Linked DNA regions of Homo sapiens: region 2 is linked to region 1. The links are contacts of gene promoters, found by promoter capture Hi-C in blood cells and fetal thymus (Javierre and others, 2016). All regions are on one chromosome and are shown on one strand. The core of a region is centred on a gene start or on the middle of the fragment in contact, and the rest is flanking DNA. Distances in the headings are between cores, read along the strand shown.

Region 1 (5,112 bases), core at 817-3,316:
CCATCATCAGACTTCTACTGATGGAGACATTTGCCTCAGTCACTCATTTTTGGTTAACTAGGAATCTCATTAAATGGATAGAAGTCGTTGAAAATATGGCTTAAAACACACCTCACCACATGCCTGCCCCAAGTTAATGAGCAGAGTTGATTACTGCCTGCTTGCAGAAGTGGGAAAGGAGGAGGAAAAGGAAATATACAGGGGGACAAATTTTTAAACACAACTTCAAAATATTACCCAGTCATATATGTATACACACACATAGAAAATTACACGGCAGATTACTTACAGTAGCGTGAGAGAATTTTTGAGTGGGTGGGATTCTTTACAGCAAGTTTTTTTTTTTTTGCTTCTTTGAATTTTTTTTACTCTTTTAGGTTTTTATATTTATAAAAGTTATATTTACTTTTTAAAAGTGTCAACCTTAATATTGAGATTCAGAAATATGATTACATATAGTGTGTATTTGAGCACAGAGCCTGAGAATGGCCACCTGGACAAATGGGGTCAGCCTTTCCAAGTGGAGCTCAGGTCTCTCTTACCAGGCGGAGACAGAAGCTCCAGCAGGATCACCACAGTTCTCATATGAGACCAGGGGCACACGCCGCAGCGGTTCCATTGGTTAGGGATCTCTGTATTTGAAGGAAGATTGCGTTATAACTCCATGAGGAGGGGTAGTGATCTGAGGGGGTCTTATCTCCGGTGCCATTTGGTCTTTATTGTTTACAGGGAAAAAGGCAGAAGTTACAGCTGGGTGTGGCATGACCTAGGCCGCGTAGCCACATTCCCCTCAAGGCTCAGGTAATTCAAAGTTCCAACAGCTTCAAGTTTAAATTATTTTAAGTTTGAATGATTTAATTTCACAAAAGGTAATATATGCACATTGACTGAAATTCAAAAGCACAAAAAGATATCCAAGGAAGTACCTCTCCCACTTCTACCATCTCTCATCTTCCAGCACTCCTTCCAGAGGCCTTGCGCTATGCCGGTTTTCTCATTTTTCCTTCCTGGGACAGTTTAGGGATTTTTCTACCTATCATTAAATTCGTATTTTACTCAAATGCAGGCATACGATAAACACGATCCTATACTTGCTTTTTCCCACATACTATATCTTGAAGATCGTTCAATGTCCATGCAAAGCTGACTGTTCTTTTGAACAGCCAGCGAGTATTCCATTACGTGAGCGTATCATGACCTATTTACTCAGTTCCATACTTCATGGGTGTTTAAATTGTCTGCAATCTTTTGCTATTACAAACGAAACCACAGGTCATTTTGCACACATGCAAAAATGCAAATCCATGGTATATTTCCCAAAATAAAAATCATTAGGTTTAACAGCACGAACACCTTTAAATTTGGAAGATATTCCAATTCGTTCATCCTAGAGAGTATACCAATACCACTCACAAAACTTGAGGGTGCCTGCTTCCCGACATTCCTGCTAGCAGTGTCATCAACCTTTGTGATCTTTGTTAACATATGAAAAGTGGTACTCTAATTTTAATTTTTATTATGAATTAAGTTGGACTTTCTTTCGTATGTTAAAGTCTATTTGCATTTCTTTCCCTGTGAACTGTTTTTTGCCTGTCTTTCTCCTGAGCCATTGGTCTCTTCCCACTGACTTATTACATATATGTAAAGGGAATATTGGCTCTACATTATAAGGAAATTCGAATTTTGTGATAGGTTTCAAATTTTTCCCTAGGTTGTCTTTGACTTCATTTGCTGTTTGTGCACACAATTTTTTTTTTTTGTAATGAGAGTGCGTTGCTCTTATTTTTAAAATGTTGACTACATTCTGGGGAAAGAAGGCTCAGCAGCCACCTGCTTTTTTGCCCGGGTGGGTGGTCCGGCCCCGAGCCCTCCTGACTCTCTCGCCAATGCCCAGAGGCGCCGCAGCGATTCCAGGGAGGCCGCGCTCTCGCCCCAAGGCAACCAGAAGCCCACGTGCCAGGAGAGGCATCGGAACCAACAACTCGGGTCCGTTTTCCCGCGCCAGATGGGATTCGTTTGCTGTGGACTTCCGGGGCGGGGCCTGCCTGGAGCGGAAGAGCCTGGGCAGTGCACGGGGCCTGGGTGGGGGGTGCGGGTGTGGGTGGGGACCTGCGGCCTTCGAGTCCGCGGCCTTCGAGTCCTGGGGCGGCGGCGGCGGCTGCAGGCACGGGCACGGGCACGGGGCGGGGTGCTTAGGGTGCAGGAGGCGCGCGCCTAGCGGCGGAGTGTGGCGTGAGGCCGGGCCCGCGCCGCCATGAACCTAGAGCGGCTGCGGAAGCGCGTCCGGCAGTACCTCGACCAGGTGGGCGGCCCCGACTCGGGGTGCGGGGCCCAGGCCTCGCCGGGTCTTTTTCCGCGCGGCGTGGGGCTGGGGTGACTGTTGTCGGGGCTCTTGGTGGGGAAGGACTGGGCCGGCCCTGGGCCTTCATCTGGGGCCAGCAGCGCTGTCTCCGCCTCGCCCAGAAGGGAGCGGTCCCTGCAGCTGGGAGGGGCACAGCCCGGGGAGTGGAGGCCCCCGAGCGCACGGGGCGCCTCAGTCGGGTCTGAGCCTCGTTCTGCACCTGGCGCGGAGGAGGTGCCCAGGAAACACTGACTACTCAGTGCAAGTTGAAGGACAATTTTTGGAGGAAAGTTGCAGGGCTAGCTAATAAAACATTTTTGAGAGGTTTAGTTGTAATTTTTACTGGGCTGAATTTAAGTGAATAAAGATGTGAAGAAGCCTGTTGTCTCAAATCAATACTTTAAAAATTCTCGTTAACTATGTCTGTGTTCTCTGCACTACCTTTGAATAGCAGAGAGCGTTTAAGGCAAGAAGTGTCTTCGAGAATCAGCAGCATCAGTTTTATCTATATTGTTGTTTATTTTTTGTTGAAATGCTTGCTCTTTCAGGAAATTGGAAAGAAAGGGAAAGAAAAGCCATGGTAATGCAGAGTTTTCGGAATTGGGTGCTAACTGACGTGGCCAAATGTTTGCAGTCCATTTGGAGGGCTGTGTTTTTATTTACCATGAGTCAGTTGAATTCAGTGTTTTCTGATCACTTTTTCTTCGGTACGGAGACGTAGTGAGGAATATGACAGGCCCGGTTTCCAGCCAGAGACACCGGTATTGAGCATATTTATAACTATCCCGTTGGCATTCCTCCTGCCTCGGGCTAGCAGCAGTGGTCCTGGCTTGTCTCCAGGGGAACTGAGGCAGAGACTGTAGAAGACTGAGGACTGAGGAGCAGAACAGGGTCTAAAGCTAGCCGTAGGTCACTGTGGGTGGCCCTCATTGTCGGCTCCTTCATTTTTGTTAGACTTGGAGGAGGTGAGTTCTTCCCCATGTTCAGTGAAGCTTAGTTAATTTATGTGTGTGTGTTTTTAAACTTGAGTGTTATTAAAACTGCCACTGTGTTATATAAGGTATTTGAGTATAGTGTTCTGTCTTCTAAATTTCACTTTGGGATTCATTAACAGCTCGTTGAAAGTGTTATATAAATCACACATGAATTGTTAATGACTAGCTTTTGCTGTTTCACTTGCATTTCACTTGTATGTTTCACGATACATTTTTACAGTGTATGAGTTTTAAAAAATTACCTTCATAAGTTGCATATACAAAGATATTACAGGAATGTTTGTATTGCGACACTGAACTAAAATTTACCCTACGTGAGATGTAAGATAGAGATGTAACAAATTGTTGTCTTGAGATGAAGATTTATTACATAGAATTATATTAATATATTACATAGAATTATAATAATATTAGATAACTGTTTAAGACTATTAAAATAACAGGGCAGTTACCACCTTTTTTTTTTTTTGGTATGCAGCAACAGTATCAAAGTGCTCTATTTTGGGCAGATAAAGTAGCTTCACTCTCTCGTGGTAAGTGACAAAATGCTAACTGGTTTTCTGATTAATCTTAAAATTCGTTTTCTATTTCACCTTGTACCTCTGACCACTTATGTGAATTTTTCCCTCCAGAAGAACCCCAGGACATCTATTGGTTGGCTCAGTGTCTTTACCTGACAGCACAATATCACAGAGCCGCCCATGCACTTCGGTCACGAAAACTGGACAAAGTAAGTGATGGTATGAACTTTAAAGCTCTTCAGAGCTTTAAAAAAAATGTCATTAGTGGCCGGGCGCGGTGGCTTACACCTGTAATCCCAGCGCTTTGGAAAGCCAAGGCAGGTGGATCATGAGGTCAGGAGCTCAAGACCAAGATGGTGAAACCCCATCTCCGCTAAAAATACAAAAATTAGCCGGACGTGGTGGCAGGCGCCTGTAATCCCAGCTACTCGGGAGGCTGAGGCAGAGAATTACTTGAACCTGGGAGGTGGAGGTTGCAGTGAGCTGAGTTCGTGCATTGCACTCCAGCCTGGACAACAGAGCAAGACTCTGTCTCAAAAAAAAAAAAAGTCATTAGGGTTTTAGGTGTATATTCCATTTCTGTTGAAATTATTTAACTTGATGCAATTTTTCTTTGTTTTTGTTTTTTTGAGGTCTCTCTGTGTCACCCAGGAGTGCAGTGGGATGATCGTGGCTCACTATAACCTCAGACTCCTGAGTTCAAGTGATCCTTCTGCCTCAGCCTCCCTAATAGCTGGGACTACAGGTGCATGCCACCACACCCAGCTAATTTTTAAATTTTTTTGGTAGAGACAGAGCCTCACTATGTTGCCCAGGCTAGTCTTGAACTCCTGGTCTCAAGCAGTCCTCCCGCCTTGGTCTCCCAAAGTGCTGGGATTATAGATGTGAGTCATCACAGTAGGCCCAGTTTTTTTTTAGTGAAAGTGAAGGGAAAATGTCTTATACCTAATCTGTCACCTTCTTTTTCCCCCATCTCCCATCTAGTCTCTAAATTCTGAAGACTGTTTTCTAAACAGCTCTGGAATCATGGATATTCCTCTTCCTCCCCACTCGTACGTGTCAGGCCTTTGATTTTTTTGTCTGTTCTGTTACAGCCTCTCTTCTTGTCTCTTTTCCCCAGTAACAGTTTCTCTCTTCTTATCTTCCCTGTCACAAGTTCATCTTGTGAACTATTACAGGAGTGAGTAGTCTTTAAAACACGGATGTGGTTATATTCCCACAAAGTCATTCAGTGACTTCCCATTAGCTGCAGGAT
Region 2 (4,953 bases), core at 1,706-4,205, 200 kb before region 1:
TATGTGTCCACCTGTGTGCATGTTCGCCTGTGTGTGCATGCAGCTGTGTGTGTCTGCCTGTCTGTGCATGTGGCTATGTGTCTGTGTGGGCGTGCGATTGTGTGTGCGTGTCCGTCTGTGTGCACACGGCTGTGTGTCTGCCTGTGTTTGCATGAAACTGTGTGTGTCTGCCTGTCGGTGTCTGCCTGTCTGTATGTGCATCTGCCTGTCTGTGTGTTTGGCTGTGTGTGTCCTTCTGTGTGTGTGTGCGACTATGTGTGCATGTCTGTCTGTGTGCAAGCAGCTGTGTGTGCATCTGCCTGTATGTGCATGCAACTCTGTGTGTGTCTACCTGTCTGTAGTGTGTGGCTGTGTGCATGTCCTTCTGTGTGTGTGCGCGACTGTGTCTGCCTGTCTGTGCGCGTGGCTGTGTGTCCACCTGTGTATGTGTGTTTGTCCGCCTGTCTGTACATGCGACTGTGTGTGCATGTCTGCCTGTGTGTGCACCGCCTGTGTGTATGTGTGACTGTGTCCACCTGTGTGTGTGTGCGGCTATGTGTGCCTACCTGTGTGTGCCGCTGTCCCTGTATTTGCTCCAGCCTGAATGGCAATGAATGGATGGGATAAACACAGACTCATCCATGCTTCAGGGGCTCTGCCTGGCCCGGCCCTTAGCTCTAGCTCCTGAGGCTCCGGGAAGGCCAAGGCGTGTTCCCCAGGGCTTGTCCCTGCCTGTGGGAGGGTGGGACAGACGGGCAGAATGCCTGGCGCTAAGACGTGGACGGCAGAACCGACAGCAGCCCTGCAGCACGTGGCCTGGTGCAGAACCTCGGATGGAGCAGGGACCTCGCTTAGGCCCCACCCACCTAAATGATTAAAAAACCTTCGAGTTCCTTCAAAAATATATCAGACACCTAGCCAGCCTTGAGTGGTAAATCACCTAACAAGCAAAATAAATAATAAAATAATAGCCAAAAAATTAGTCAGGAGATATTTATTCCCTATACAAGTTAAAAATAGCATCTTAACATATGTCCCTAAATTGTTTTTCAAAAACCGAGACCCTCACCAAACAGATCTACCAACACAGACCACAAATGCAGGGGGGATCACAGGCCCGAACCCTGAACCCGGCTCTATTCTGAATTTCTTCCTCAGGGGCCAGGAGGGGTCATGCCTGTGGGCCAGAGCCAACATTCTTTTCTGCTGATCTCAATTGTTTGGACAAAGCTTCTCCTCCTTAACCAATCACAAATCAAAAACGCTCTATATCCGACCCATGGGCCACACGTCGTGATGTCTGCCTTCTCAGGTCAAACTGACATACGGCCTCCATGTACTGATTTATGACTTTGCCACAACCTCAGCCTCCCCACCTTCTGAAACCCTTGCCTGTGAACCCTCGGGGTGCCTGGGTCGTGGGCGCAGCCTGCCCTGCCAGGGTGCACACCCCGAAGCCCCTGGTCAGGGAGTGGAACATAAAGCCCTTCAGCCCTCACTTGACACCGCGTCGGTGCAGCCCCACGGCACCCCCACACTTGATACTATGCCCCACGGCACCCCCACACTTGGCACCACGTTCCACGGCACCCCCACACTGACAACACGTCCCACGGCACCCCTACACTTGACACCACGTTCCATGGCACCCCCACACTGACACCACGCCCCACGGCACCCCCACACTGACACCACGCCCCACGGCACCCCCACACTGACACCACGCCCCACGGCACCCCCACACTTGATACCACGTTCCACGGCACCCCCACACTGACACCACACCCCACAGCACCCCCACACTTGATACCATGCCCCACAGCACCCCCACACTTGACACCACGTTCCACGGCACCCCCACACTGACACCACACCCCAAAGCACCCCCACACTTGATACCATGTTCCACGGCACCCCCACACTTGATACCACGTTCCACGGCACCCCCACACTGACACCACACCCCACAGCACCCCCACACTTGATACCATGCCCCACAGCACCCCCACACTTGACACCACGTTCCACGGAACCCCCGCACTGACACCACACCCCACGGCACCCCCACACTGACACCACGCCCCACGGCACCCCCACACTGACACCACGCCCCACAGCACCCCCACACTTGACACCACGTTCCACGGCACCCCCACACTTGACACCACGTTCCATGGCACCCCCACACTGACAACACGCCCCACGGCACCCCCACACTTGATACCACGTTCCACGGCACCCCCACACTGACACCACACCCCACAGCACCCCTACACTTGACACCACGTTCCATGGCACCCCCACACTTCATACCATGTTCCACGGCACCCCCACACTGACACCACGCCCCACGGCACCCCCACACTGACACCACGCCCCACGGCACCCCCACACTGACACCACGCCCCACGGCACCCCCACACTGACACCACGCCCCACGGCACCCCCGCACTGACACCACGTTCCACGGCACCCCACACTTCATACCACGTTCCACGGCACCCCCACACTTGACACCACGCCCCACGGAACCCCCACACTTGACACCACGTTCCACGGCACCCCCACACTGACACCACGCCCCACGGCACCCCCACACTTGACCCAGCGCTCACAGGGGGAATGGAACTGGGTCTGTGCTGCCCAGGCAGGTGTGGGAGGTGGGGCCTCCGCTGCTGTCCTGAGACTCTGGGGTCTGGAGGTTGGGTGTGGCCTTCCCGCCCTGTGGCTGCAGCCCCAGAGCAGGTCCTGAGGGGCCACAAGGATGTTGGGCCGGGAAGGTGGGCATGAACCCCACGCCAGCACTGTGGGCGGGGAAAACAGGTGCCTAAAATGACAACAAAGACCCCACCAAGACCACAGCTCCTCTTCCCACACCCATCAGAGCTCAGGGCTGAGCGGAGTATCGCCTGTGGTCCTCACCGCCTGGCAGCGGGCCTGCTATCCGTGGCTATCCATGGGCTAAAGGAGTGCCCTGAACACCAGCCGGGCAGTGGGCCTGCTATCCGTGGCTATCCACGGGCTAAAGGAGTGCCCTGAACACCAGCCGGGCACTGGGCCTGCTATCCGTGGCTATCCACGGGCTAAAGGAGTGGCCTGACCACCAAAGACAGGAGAAAGTGCCTGACCCAAGAATAACCAAGAATCCCCACTGCTTCATCCCCGTTCTCAAATGCCGGGCGCAAACTCTCTCAGGACAGAAGCGTTCAGATTTGCAAGGCTGTGCAGACGGAGGTAGCTCTATTCACATTCGGGAGCTTCAGGAAGAGTCACGACTGCATGTGGGGGGTCCTGGTCCCCAGCAGCAGGCTGTGTGGCCCCCGTGTGCTCTCCCGGCCCCTGGCAGCAGGCTGTGCGGCCCCCGTGTGCTCTCCCGGCTCCTGGCCGGGTCCAGGGGCACCTGGCTGGTCACCATCAGGTCCTGAGGCTGCTCCTGTTCCTGCAGCATGAATCCCTCCTGACCAGCTGACTTGTGTGCTTTCGTCTTCTGCTGATTCAGGAGTGGGAACAAACAAAACCCACCCCTGGAAGGCCCTTTCTCCTGCCAGAAAAGCCAATGAGTAAATCTGCAGGTGCTGGCGCAGGCTGGAGAATCCCAGACATTTAGAGGTTAAACAACACAGTTCTAAATAACACACAGATCAGAGAACGCAAGACAAATTTTAAAATGTTCCGGAATAAACAGAAATGAAAGTGTTACTCATCAAAATCAGTGGGATGAAGCGGGAGCCGTGCTCGGGGTGGAGGGGAATCTGGAGTGCCGGCCACACAGACTAGAGCAGAAGGGAGATCTGAACGCTGACCTGAGCTTAGAGCAGAAGGGAGATCTGAACGCTGACCTGAGCTTAGAGCAGAAGGGAGATCTGAACGCTGACCTGAGCTTAGAGCAGAAGGGAGAGCTGAACGCTGACCTGAGCTTAGAGCAGAAGGGAGATCTGAACGCTGACCTGAGCTTAGAGCAGAAGGGAGATCTGAACGCTGACCTGAGCTTAGAGCTGGGAGACTGAGAAAAATGAGTAAACTAAACCCAGAGCCCAAGAACAGAAAACAGAAGTCAGATCGGAAACCAATAGGTAAAAATCAAAGCCAACGGCAAATTCCTTGAGAGATCAATAAAATTAATAAACCTCAAACCAGGCTACTAAGAGCAAAAGGGAAAAGGCACAAATTCCCACAGGAAAGGAACGAGAGGACCTGGCTGCCGACCCTGGCACCTGCCTGGACGCTGCACTGAGGTCCCTGGCGCTGCACTCCTGCGAACTCACAGACGCAGCAAAGGGGCCCCAGCGTCCAGCTCCTGACAACGTGTGGCTGCAGTGTCACCCATGGGGCCCTGGGCGGGGGCTGCTGAGGGGTGTATGGAAACTCTGTACTCTGCTCAATTTCCCTGTGAACACAGAACTGCCCCCAAAACAGAGTTAATTAATTTTTAAAAAGCAGCCAATGGTCCCTATCCATCTTTCTCAGGAAGGCCTTCCCCAGGGAGAGAGCAGCGCGCAGAGCCGGGTCAGGGTCCTGGCCCCACCCACCGGTTGCCGTGTCCCCCACTGAGCGGGCAGCGGCCCAGAGAGCAGCCAGGACAGAGGTGCCTTGGATGCAGGACTGTTCCACGCCGGCCGCAGAGAGGAGACGAAGTCCGCGGGCAGATGAGACAGGATGCAGAGGCCATGAGGAAGGAAGCCCAGCCTCGGCCGTCTCCTCTTACAACCCTGGAGAGATGTGAAAGCTTGACGACGGACGGTGACTTTGTTTGCTCCGAAAATCCTTCCAAGAGGACTGTCTGCTGCACAAACACAAAATTCCCAGAGGCTGTAGCAGGAGGCTGGAATTTCCAGCCCAGTGAGATTTCACGGTGCAACTGGAAGGCTCCAAGGGGGAAACACGTAGGTGTCTCTTGGGCGGATGGCAGACCCAGGGGTTTGCTGTGATCCCCTGCAGGGCTGTGCTATTTTCTGAATACGTCACAGATGCACT

The links. The method cuts DNA at HindIII sites, captures the fragments that hold promoters and counts their contacts. A CHiCAGO score of 5 or more calls a contact.
Region 2: a contact is called between a fragment that was not itself captured here and the fragment with the promoter of CDC16 in region 1, in 7 of 17 cell types (naive CD4 T cells, naive CD8 T cells, non-activated CD4 T cells and 4 more). The highest score is 9.3, in naive CD4 T cells.

What each region holds. Positions count from the first base shown.
Region 1 is chr13:114,232,831-114,237,942 of GRCh38, forward strand. CDC16 (cell division cycle 16) reads left to right here and starts at 2,067. Exons shown (of 18, transcript NM_001078645.3): 1 at 2,067-2,302; 2 at 3,815-3,869; 3 at 3,969-4,066. The coding sequence starts at 2,255. RefSeq lists an enhancer at 1,866-1,915 and a silencer at 2,026-2,385. The HindIII fragment of the contact is 7,021 bases long and covers 1-3,331 here.
Region 2 is chr13:114,031,118-114,036,070 of GRCh38, forward strand. The region is part of intron 4 of RASA3 (RAS p21 protein activator 3); the gene reads right to left. Among named protein-coding and RNA genes, the nearest start is that of C13orf46, 60 kb to the left of the region's middle. RefSeq lists enhancers at 74-1,015, 4,574-4,953. The HindIII fragment of the contact is 3,496 bases long and covers 1,208-4,703 here.